Linked DNA regions of Homo sapiens: region 1 is linked to region 2. Evidence: promoter capture Hi-C in 16 types of primary human blood cells and fetal thymus (Javierre and others, 2016). All regions are on one chromosome and are shown on one strand. Each heading gives the region's core, a stretch centred on a gene start or on the middle of the fragment in contact. The rest is flanking DNA. Distances are from core to core; before and after follow the strand shown.

Region 1 (5,647 bases), core at 3,148-5,647, 520 kb after region 2:
TCTCGGCCTCCCAAGGTGCTGGGATTACAAGGCGTGAGCCACCGCGCCTGGCCTAATAAGGCTTTTAAATATTGAATATGTGTTGAATGATATTTTGGATATACGGGTTCCATGAAATATATTATTAACACTAATTTTAAAACATTTTAGCAAATTAGGTTAACTTTTTTTTCTTAATTTTTAAAAGTTTTATCCCCACAGAAAGGCATCTCATCTAACACTTTTTTTTCTTTTTTCTTTTTTTTTTTTTTTTTTGAGACGGAGTCTTGCTCTGTTGCCCAAGCTGGAGTGCAGTGGCGCGATCTCAGCTCACTGCAACCTCCGCCTCCCGGGATCACGCCATTCTCCTGCCTCAGCCTCCCGAGTAGCTGGGACTACAGGCGCCCGCTACCACGCCCAGCTAATTTTTTGTATTTTTTTTTTTTAGTAGAGACCGGGTTTCACCGTGTTAGCCAGGATGGTCTCGATATCCTGACCTCGTGATCCGCCCGCCTTGGCCTCCCAAAGTGCTGGGATTACAGGCGTGAGCCACCGCGCCCAGCCTCATCTAACGCTTTTAAAGTAACCTGGCTACCAGAAACTTTAAAATTGCCTATATAGCTTGCATGCTATTTCTATTGGCCAGCGCTGCTCTAGGACGTCGCTTCTGAATACAGGAACCTTGCCTGTTCTGTACACTGCTGGCATTTCAGCATCTAGAAGGATGTCTGGCGCTGATGAAAAAATGCTGAGCAAACACCCAGCCCGAACTTCCACGCTCCCAAACGCCCCCTCAGGCTCACCTTTCAGCCCATGTTTGAGGCAGTGCTCCATCACTACAAAGAACTGCTGCAAGGGGGCATGGTCCGCATCCAGGCTGCGGCCCAGGCTCAGAGCCGACTGGAGCAACACCTTGATGCTGAGTTTCATCATGTGCATCAGGTTGGCACGCTCCTCCATCATCTGGCACTTAGAAGCTGTGGGGCAGGAGCAGGGATAGCTTCGTTAGTGGACTGAGCGTGGGGAGGTCAGACTCCGGGCAACGGTGAGAAGACGGGTCAGGCAGGAGGCCAGGCGGTCTGCTTAGGGAACGGACGTGCTGGCGGGCGGGCAACCGGGATTCGCAGGTAAGTAGTCCCTGATCCCTAGAGGCCACAGCCCCCTACCTGGACGGCGGGGCCTTGGGTCAGAAGAGCCACTGGGCCTCCTGCTCCAGAGGCCTCTCCCAGACGGCTCCGCGCGTTGCTACGGCGACGGCTTTAGCAAGACTCGCCGCGTTTGGCTTCTCCCGCAACCCCGGTTCCATTTTTGACCAATGGAAGGGCGCTACCTACAGGAAGCCCTGCCCCAAGCTCTTAGAGGGCGTGCTGGGAAAGCGTCCCGCCCCCAAACATTCCTATTGGGCGAGTCCAGCTCAAGGCCTCTCCTACGGAGCTGGTGGGCGCCATTTTGCACCCTCTGTCCCGGACGGAGGAGGATGCGCACCCCGCCCAGAAGGCTTTTCCAGCCTTCTCTCTTGCCGGATAGTGCCAGCCGGGTGCCTGCAGGGAAGCATCTTCCCCTCAGCTCCAGGCTCAAATTCTTGTTGCCGATCTTTCGTCCGCTACTAGTGGACAATTTTAGGTTTTACGCACACTTTGTTTTTTGGTAAGGAAAACCGTTGGAGTCAAATGAATTCAGAGAGTTCCATTTCAACTCCCATTATCTTGTCGCATTGCCTTGAGGGTGTAATAAAGACTGTGTGCAATTATCATCAGATATCTATACGTGCTGGCCAAATGCTCTCTGAAACCCAGTAAGCTGGTATCCTAGAAACTAAAAGTTTAGATCCCAAAGTAAGAGTCCTGGCAGGAAAGTCCCAGGTGCGAAGCGCGGCCCTCACCCGGGCGCGCGCGCGCGTTTACATTGTCTTGGAAATATTTGCCAATTGGAATGGGGGCGGGGGATCGTATTGTTTTTGGTTTGCAGCTGTCCAATTACTACTGAGGTTAAATAACTTCTGTTTATTCTCTGCTAGTATTTCTTCTGTGAATTGCTTGCTCAATTGACTTTCGTGTTGAATTGCTTGCCTTTGTCTTACTGACCTGTATATTTTGGATACTAATCCTTTACCTGTTTTATTTCACCAGCATTGATTAATATGGACAATTAAAGAGCATATTTATACGTACTATATTTTTATATAGTTAATTACAGTTAAATCTGAACGATAATATTATGGCCGTGAACTTGTAGTAAAGGTCTTAAATAAATACTGAGACATCCTGGGACTAAAAATTCAAAATTATCTCAGCAAAACCCAAGAAGGTAGGGGGAGAGCTGCTGGGCAAGAAGAAACAGCCTAAGCATTTCACCTTGGTTGTGGAGAGGGTTAAAAGTGGCTTAAGTAAAGCATTTCGTTGGGGGTGGTATAATTTTTTTTTTTTTTTGAGATGTTGTTTCACTCTTGTTGCCCAAGCTGGAGTGCAATGGCGCCATCTCGGCTCACTGCAACCTTCGCCTCCTGAGCTCAAGCAATTCTCTTGTTTCAGACTCCCGAGTAGCTGGGATTACAGGCATGCGCCACCACGCCTGGCTAATTTTGTATTTTTAGTAGAGACGGGGTTTCTCCATTTTGGTCAGGCTGGTCTCGAACTTCCAACCTCAGGTGATCCGCCCGCCTTGGCATCCCAAAGTGCTAGGATTACAGGCGTGAGCCACCATGTCTGGCCAGTATAATTATTTTTATATTTCGAGAGAAGCCTATGTATTATATTTATAAATTTTAAAACTGTAATGGATGATTGGCAAAGGAAATAAAACTTGTAAAACTTCATCAAGAGAAGGGAGAAACTCTGAAGACAGCAATAACCATAAAAGCAATTTGTAAAGATTTATCTTTAAAGAAGACACCAAGCCCAGTTCTATCATCTAGTGGTCTTGAAATTGGAATACATATACAGCAGTCTTGCCAAAGCTAGGTATGCCCAGATGTTTTAAGGAACTCAATTTCCAGATTTTCAAGTTTCACAGGCACTCTTTCTCCTCCCTCTAAAGAAGGGCAACTCACTCCATAACCTGTCTTCCTCTTGATACGGTGACCTGGGGTGCCCTAGGTTCCATACACCAAATGGAGGTGGTGTCGCCCTTGATGATTAAGTAATCAAAAACATGAAGACCAGCCTTTTACTGCTTTATGGTATTCAGTTAAGCTTGGTCTTGGGGCAGAGGGGTGGTCTCTAACCCTCTGCTTGGGTGTCCTAAATTTAGAAAATTAAATTTTTCTCCCTACAAATCTATGTAATTATGTTCAACCAGTCAATATTCACAACCCTAAGATGTGCCATTAGCTTGATGGCCATTTTCCGTAAATTAAATGAGCCCAAACTGCAGCTAAGTATTTGATGAAAATGGATTTGAAATACATGATAAACTAAAAGTATTTTTGTCAAAAAGTACTGTATTGGCAAAGGTGAATGAAATAAGCAATACTCAGATGTCTCCAACCATTCTGAGTATTCTGGGTTAAACAAAGTGCCTAAGTGAAAGAATAAGAAGTGAAATTATCCCTTGATAAGTCTTTTTTTCTTTTGAGATGGAGTTTTGCTCTTGTTGTCCAGGCTGGAGTGCAATGGCACGATCTTGGCTCACTGCAACCTCCGCCTCCTGGGTTCAAGAGATTCTCCTGCCTCAGCCTCCCCAGTAGCTGGGATTACAGGTGCCCGCCACCATGCCCAGGTAATTTTTTGTATTTTTAGTAGAGACGGGGTTTTACTATGTTGGCCAGGCTGGTCTCGAACTCCTGACCTCAGGCCATCCACCTGCCTCAGCCTCTCAAAGTGCTGGGATTACAGGCATGAGCCACCGTGCCTGGCTCACACTTGATAAGTCTTGGTAAAACTTTTGTTTTGGTAACTCCCAACAGTTGAGAAATTTTCTTAATATGATTAGGTTGCAGGTCAGGTAATTTTCAATTATTTGCTTTGAATGAAAATAAGGGAACAAAAAATAATTTTTGGCTTTAGATCAGTGTGATTTGGGGCATATAACTTGGAAAGAGTTCAAAGATGACCAACATTACTAAAACAAACAAACAAAAAACAGGACTAAAACTGATGCTGAATTCTATCACGCTTTAGCAGTAAATCATATATATTCATCTACAGATATATGCTAATGACAAAAACCAACACCATTCATCTCATTTAGAGATGCAATTCATTGGCTGGGCGTGGTGGCTCACGCCTGTAATCCCAGCACTTTGGGAGGCTGAGGCAGGCAGATCACCTGAGGTCAGGAGTTCGAGATCAGCCTGGCCAACATGGTAAAACCCGTCTCTACTAAAAATACAAAACTTAGCTGGGCGTGCTGGCGTGCACCTGTAGTCCCAGCTACTGGGGAGGCTGAGGTGGGAGGATCACTTGAACTCGGGAGGCGGAGGTTGCAGTGAGCCGAGATTGCGCCACTGCATTCCAGGCTGGGCAACAGAGTGAGACCCTTCTCAAAAAAAAAAAACGCAATTCAAGAAAAATTTATGTATAATTCTTTATAAAAATTATATTTATGTTCCTGTTACCAATGTAGCATTACTAATAAACTTAATGATAATTCACTCCAGAAGAAAAATTTTTATACACTTAGAGCTTCAGTCACAATAAAAATTTATTAAACTTTAACTTATTTACATACTTTTTGCTGAGACTTATAAGATGACCAATAACACTTTTAAAAACATACAAATCTATTACATTAATTCTATGGCAGAAGTGGAATGGAAATCCAAGTTCAATGAATAAAAGGGAAAATGTAAAATTTTCAAATATTAAATAACTTGCTATTTTAAAGATGGATGGTGGTAATTATCAATTCATTAAGGTATTTACATACCACTTGATACATTTCAAAAAACAATGTAACAGTTTTATTTTAAAAAGTCAATATTTACACTATGCCAGAAAATGAATTCTGAGCAACTTTAAAATATGATGAATAATCTTATACGTTAACTTTAAAAGTTAAGTTTTCGGCTGGGAGCAGTGTCTCATGCCTGTAATCCCAGCACTTTGGGAGGCCGAGGTGGGCAGATCACTTGAGGTGAGCAGGTCACTTGAGGTCAGGAGTTTGAGACCAGCCTGGCCAACATGGTGAAACCCTGTCTCTACTAAAAATCCAAAAAATTGAGAAACACCCAAGAATGATCAATTAAAAAAAAAAAAAAATCCAAAAAATTACCTGGGCGTGGTGGTGCATGCTTGTAATCCCAGCTGCTTGGGAGGCTGAGGCAGGAGAATCGCTTGAACCTGGGAGGCGGAGGTTGCCGTGACCCGAGATCACGCCATTGCACTCCAGCCTGGGTGACGAGCAAAACGCCGGCTCAAAAAAAAAAAAAAAAAAAAAAAAAGTTGGGAGTTTTCTTAGGGGGTTACATGAGCAAAAAATGTTAAGACCAGTGTTCCAGGCAATCAGCGCTGGGTGGTGCTGTCTCTGGAAGTGCTGCTGGCAGTGTTTTGCCATCTCATGCATCCCCTACTATGGGGTTACCTGTACCCATTAGCACTCAAGTTAGAGGCATGGAAAATTAAACCTGGAACGATCTTTTAGCGGTTCTATCTCTCAATTTTACTGGCTTTGTGACCTTGGCCAAACTATTCACATCTCTAAGCTTCATTAATAATAGTTCAACATGACA
Region 2 (5,708 bases), core at 2,590-5,089:
GGGCAGACATTGCTCACAGGGGAGACAGATCTCCTCCTGAAGGACTGAAGCTCTTACGGGGCCTGGATGTGGGAGGCTGGCAGCTCGGGCCCCACTGGAGTTCTGGGGAGAAGGGGATTTTGAGCTGGGGCTTACAGGTGACCTAGGATTTATTGTAGGCTGAGAAATGGACACAGAGGCAGGGGAATATGGTGCGTGGTGGAGTCAGGGAAATAACCCCATTAAGGAAAAAGGTTCGTGGGCAGCTCATTCACAGGCCAGCGTGGGCCAGAGCCAGACTGCGGCACACATCCTCCGTGAGACCTGCCATGTCCGATAAAACCACTCGTACTTTTATTTAACCAATACTTTTAATTCACTTTTTTCTTAAATGTTTTAAAAGATAGCATCGTGTAAAGATATACACATGGCCAATAAGCACATGAAAAGATGTTCAGCACCACTAATCATTAGGGAAATGCAAATCAAAACCATAATGAGAGACCACCTAATACCCATTTAGATGGCTACTATTTTGAAAAAGAAGTAGAGAAGTGTTGGCAAGGATGAGAAGAAACTGGAACCCTTGTGCAGTTGGTGGGAATGTAAAATGGGGCAGCTACTATTAAAAAAACAGTAGGGCAGTTCCTGAAAAAAATTAAGCATAGAATTACCATTAGATCTGGTAATTCCACTTCTGAGTATATACACAAAAGAATTGAAAGCAGGAAGGGATATTTATACGCCCAATGTTCATAGCATCATTATTCACAATAGCCAAACAGTAGAGGCAACCAAGTGTCCTATGATGAATGGATAAACAAAGTGTATTATATACATACAGTGGAATGGATGAATGGCTAAAAAAAAACTTGGAATATACATACAATGTGATATGATTCAGCCTTAGCAAAGGAGGAAATCTGATACGTACTTCAACAGAGGTGAACCTCAAGGACATCGTGCAAAGCAAGATAAGCTACTCACAAAAGGACAAATACTATATGATTCCACTTATGCGGGTAAGTAGAATCATCAAAATCATAGAGACAGAAAAGAAGAATGGTAGTTGGGGAAGGGGGAACGTTTAATGGGTGCAGAGTTTCAGTTTTACAAGATGGAAAGAGTTCTGGAGATGGATGGCAAAGGTTACACAACGATGTGAATGTACTTAATGCCACTGATCCATATGCTTAAAAATGGTTAAGATGGACAATTTTATGTTATGTGTATTTTACCATAATATTTTAAAAGGTAGCGTTGTATCACTATTATAAATGAAAAACTTCTTGTCTCCCTAAGGTCTCCTTAAAACCTTGAGGTTTCCTTAAAAGACAATGCCACTCCCAAGTACAGGCTGGTGTGAATGTTGCCGTACATGCTGGTGCGTGATGAGGCTGTGCACCGAGACCTCATCTTGCTTTATTTAAAGGGGAGATCAGCAAGTGCCAGGGAAGTGTTAAAGGTGCTCTGGAACCAATTTTCTCCTTGACAAATTCAGAAGGGTTGAGAAAGCCACTTCCTCCCCACCTGATTAACAAAGTGGTGCTTGTGAGCTTCTATAATTGTTTCTTGTGCCAGGGGTCATGGGCACCTTACAGTTTGAAGACTCCTCCTTTATAAGGACAAAGGAGTAGAGGCCATGAGCCTCTTGGGCAGGGGTAGGCCAGGGCATGCCCAGCAAGAAGAGCAGGAGACCGTCACCGGGAAGAGCCCTACACAGGCCCTAGATGTGGCCCTGGGCTGTGGGGAGAAGGAATTTCTGGGTCTTAGGTGCTAGAGCATGGGTACCTTGGTGCTAAGGACTCCTTGCCCTATGAAGGGTCCAGCTGGAGGGGACCAGATTAGAGCACTCTTTAGGTGCCAGGCCCAGGGCGAGGACCCCGCTGCTTTGGCCTAGGGTCTGTACTTGCCGAGGATAAGTAAATAAGTAAAAGCCGTTCTCCATAGGCCAGGGCACGGTTTATAAGGACTATGGTAGAGGATGGAAGAGAGGGAAATGGAGGGAGAAATTGTAAAGGATGTCTGCCAAGTCATCAATAGTGGACATCTGTTTTCTTTCTTTTTTCTTTTTCTGAGACGGAGTCTTGCTCTGTCGCCCAGGCTGGAGTGCAGTGGCTCGATCTCTGCTCACTGCAACCTCCGCTTCCCGGGTTCCAACGATTCTCCTGCCTCAGCCTCCCGAGTAGCTGGGACTACAGGCACGCATCACCACGACTAATTTTTTTATTTTTAGTAGAGACGGGGTTTCACCATGTTGGCCAAGCTGGTCTCGAACTCCTGACCTCGTGATCCGCCCACCTAGGCCTCCCAAAGTGCTGCGATTACGGGCGTGAGCCACCGCGCCTGGCCAGTGGTGGGCATCTTAAGTTTTAGCCTGCACTGCATCCGTACCCTTTCCTGGAAACAGTGCCTCAAATTTCTTTTTGGGGAGCCACCTCTTTTCCGGATTTTCAGAACATTTGGTTGTGCAAAGCTGACTCCACCCACTTCCCGCAGTAGGAGACAGGAGACTCAACCCTGGCTGGTCAGAAGACGCCAAACTTTCCCCCTCCGCCTCCCCACAAAGATCCTGTAAGTTCCTGAATTCGGCTGCACTGCCCCATTCTTCCTTTTAGCTGATACTTTATAGCGATGTGTATCTTTTAAACGCCATGGAGAGAGAAAATGAGAGTCGTGTGTGTGTGCGCGCGCGCGCGTTTCGGAAGGTGGAGGGGGGGTTCCCACTGCAACCCTCTGGTCCGGGGGCCCCTGGAGTAGTTCACCTAGTCACTAGAGCAGGGGCTCCCCAACCGCCCGGCCGCGGACCTGTACCGGCCCAGGGCCTTCGAGGAACCAGTAAGCGAGCAGGAGGTGAGTGAGCATCACCGCCTGAGCTCCGCCTCCTGTCAGATCAGGGCGGCATTAGACTCTCATAGCAACGTGAACCCGGCTGTGAACTGCGCATGCTTGGGACCTAGGTTGCCCACTTCTTACGAGAATCTAACGCCTGATGATCTGAGGTGGAGCAGCCTCATCCGGAAACCACTTCAACTCCCTCAGTCCCTGGAAAAACTCTCTTCCTGGAAACCCGTCCCCCAGTGCCAAAATGGTTAGGGACGGCTACCCTAGAGGTCTTTCCCAACCACTCGTGTCCCTGCAGGTCCGGGCCAGAGACATCCCCCATCCATGATGTCAACCGCATGACGTGAATGTTAAATCTCATGACATTTAATTTTAAACATTTCTTTTAAAGTTATGGCTTTTTTTCCTTTGTAGTCTGTTCTCACACATTTCCATACGTCCTCGCAAATCTCCCGGGCTCCACGCCCTGCGGCTATCACGCCTGACAGAGAAACAACCAGCACCAGCGGCTGACCCGGCTGCCCGGGCCCTCGTGCAGGCGGGCGGGAGCGGACAGGCCCTGGCACGCATGCGCTCGGGGCGGGACTGCGCCTTAGGCCTGCGCGTTGCCGCTAGACCAGCGGGGGGGCGGGGCGGCGGCGGACACGCGCCTCAGGCGGCAGCCGCGCGAGAGGGACTTTGTGTTCCGCTGACCCTCCTCGGGGCGCTTCCTCCCGTGCCGCCCTTCCCCTCCCCCGCCGCGTCCTTGCGAGGCGCCTCCCATTCGGTGGGACCGACCCGGGGGGATGGAGGGGGCACGCTTCTACAACCCTCCTGGGACCCCGAAGAGACGCCCGCGTGCGACCTGAGACGCCGCCCTCGCCGAGGGCCCATGGGCGCGTCCCCACAGGCGGGCAGTGGACGTGAGGGCGGCGAGCGGCGGGGCCGCGGCGTCCAGGAGGGCCGCGCTCGGGCTCGGCCCCGCGCAGGCCGCGCGCGCGCGCTCCCGCCGCCGCCCGGGCCGCGCCCGCCCCGCCTCTAGGCGCCGGCCCCGGAGCCCGGTCCGCGAGCAGCGGCGGCTGCCGGAGGGACGATGAGCTGCGCGGGGCGGGCGGGCCCTGCCCGGCTCGCCGCGCTCGCCCTGCTGACCTGCAGCCTGTGGCCGGCACGGGCAGACAACGCGAGCCAGGAGTACTACACGGCGCTCATCAACGTGACGGTGCAGGAGCCCGGCCGCGGCGCCCCGCTCACGTTTCGCATCGACCGCGGGCGCTACGGGCTTGACTCCCCCAAGGCCGAGGTCCGCGGCCAGGTGCTGGCGCCGCTGCCCCTCCACGGAGGTGAGTGCCGGCCCGGGGGCGGCGGGCGGTGGTCGCTGCATCCCGCGTAGGCGGCGGGACTAGGGTTCCCGGCCCCGGCTCTGGCCCTGGCTCTCCCGCGCTGCCCGGCCGACAGCCCCAGCCAGGGTCGAGGCTTCCGTCGTGGACAGCCCGGCCTGCTCCCGTGGGAACCAGGCTCCAGGAGCGTGACTGGGTTTTTCCCTTCTTTTAAAAAAGACTTGGAACGGTCATCTTTGCGTTCAGGCAGCTCGTTTGCTGGAGGGCATTGAGCTAGGAGTTTGCAGGGACAGCGTAGACAAAGGAGGTGGTGCAAGAGCGCAAAACTACTTCATGGGGAGGACGTCTCAGCCTGTATTTTGGAAGCGGCAGGTTCCTCAAATCACGGACTTAAGGCTGCGCTAGATCTGGAAGGATGCGGCCCTTTTCTAATATAAAAACGTGCCGTTTTTCTTAAGTGGTAAATTGGGGGGGGGGTGTAAATGGAAAATGGACATCTTCCCTGTTGCTTTTGGCTCTTGTTCTTGCCCTAGTAGTTTTACTGTAATTTGACGCCTGAAAATGTCACATTATGAGGATCTGACACTAATCGGAACTACTAGCCAAGGCTTTTCAGGTCACGGGTGCCGACCAAAAGGGAAATAGGTAAAATTTTCAAGAATTGTCTTTGAAACCATTCGGCTTAATGTCATGTTTTCCTATGAACAAGGACTTTGTTTAGTTGATTATTTGGTGTAAACATGTATTTGTTTAAATTATTAGTCATGGTTTGAAAGAAACCTTTTGCACATCGTGGAATATGATTTTTTGGGTTTTGGCCCACGCTGAACTTTTGGGAGATATCTGCCATTATCCCCACCCTCATTGTCACCCTGAGAATGCTGAGAGGGGATTTTTCTTTTCTAAACTGCTGTTCATGTTAGGATGACCTAAAGTAGGCAACCTAAATAAAGTCATGATTTGCTTGTACACTCTTAAGATACTAACATATTATGCCCCTCTGAGGTCTGTATTTGTATGCCAAAGTGCTAAGCTGTTTTCTTCTTTGAGACAGTCTGGCTGGGGAAAAATAATCACATAAGGCTTTTACTGTAGCCTGTCCGCAACTCAGACTAGGCTTTGAAAAGTCCGTTTTACACCAGTAATCAGGTGCTTAAGGTGCATATCTCATCTCTACTGTGTTAAAAATGGCAGTTAGGGTCCCAGCTTGGCCGTAGAAACAACTTTTGTCTTGGGTTCATTCAGTAAATATTTGCGTTCCTGCTCTGTGCCAGTCACTGTGGTTGAGATGCACAGTGTTGCCAGACTGGCAACTAACAATGGTAGCCTCTTTTCTGGTGGAGAGAACCGTGAGGGTCACGTGGAAGGGTAGAAAGAGGAAGGGGAGGCAAGCTGTTGTGGAGCAAGAGCTGGTCCTCTGCAGTGTTGTGAAATCTGTGGTTTGTCTTTGAGGCTTGGTTCCATCAGGCACCCCAAATCCATGGTCTGAACTTCAGATCCTTCCTCCACGGTGTTCGTGTGCTTCAGCTACTTGTTGCTTGCCTGTCACCCCAAACAAAAGCCCCGTCT

What was found. The method cuts DNA at HindIII sites, captures the fragments that hold promoters and counts their contacts. A CHiCAGO score of 5 or more calls a contact.
Region 1: a fragment that was not itself captured here is called in contact with the fragment with the promoter of RNF130 in region 2 in 3 of 17 cell types (neutrophils, non-activated CD4 T cells and monocytes); the score reaches 6.9 in neutrophils.

What each region holds. Positions count from the first base shown.
Region 1 is chr5:179,555,334-179,560,980 of GRCh38, reverse strand. It overlaps RUFY1 (RUN and FYVE domain containing 1), which reads right to left. Exons shown (of 18, transcript NM_025158.5): 2 at 783-956. The region is part of intron 4 of LOC128966623 (a long non-coding RNA gene); the gene reads right to left. Among named protein-coding and RNA genes, the nearest start is that of RUFY1, 7.6 kb to the right of the region's middle. RefSeq lists an enhancer at 1,429-1,548 and a silencer at 5,166-5,342. The HindIII fragment of the contact is 2,450 bases long and covers 3,173-5,622 here.
Region 2 is chr5:180,069,890-180,075,597 of GRCh38, reverse strand. It overlaps RNF130 (ring finger protein 130), which reads left to right and starts at 3,839. Exons shown (of 9, transcript NM_018434.6): 1 at 3,839-4,142. The coding sequence starts at 3,896. RefSeq lists a silencer at 3,489-3,568 and an enhancer at 3,458-4,165. The HindIII fragment of the contact is 6,319 bases long and covers 1-5,708 here.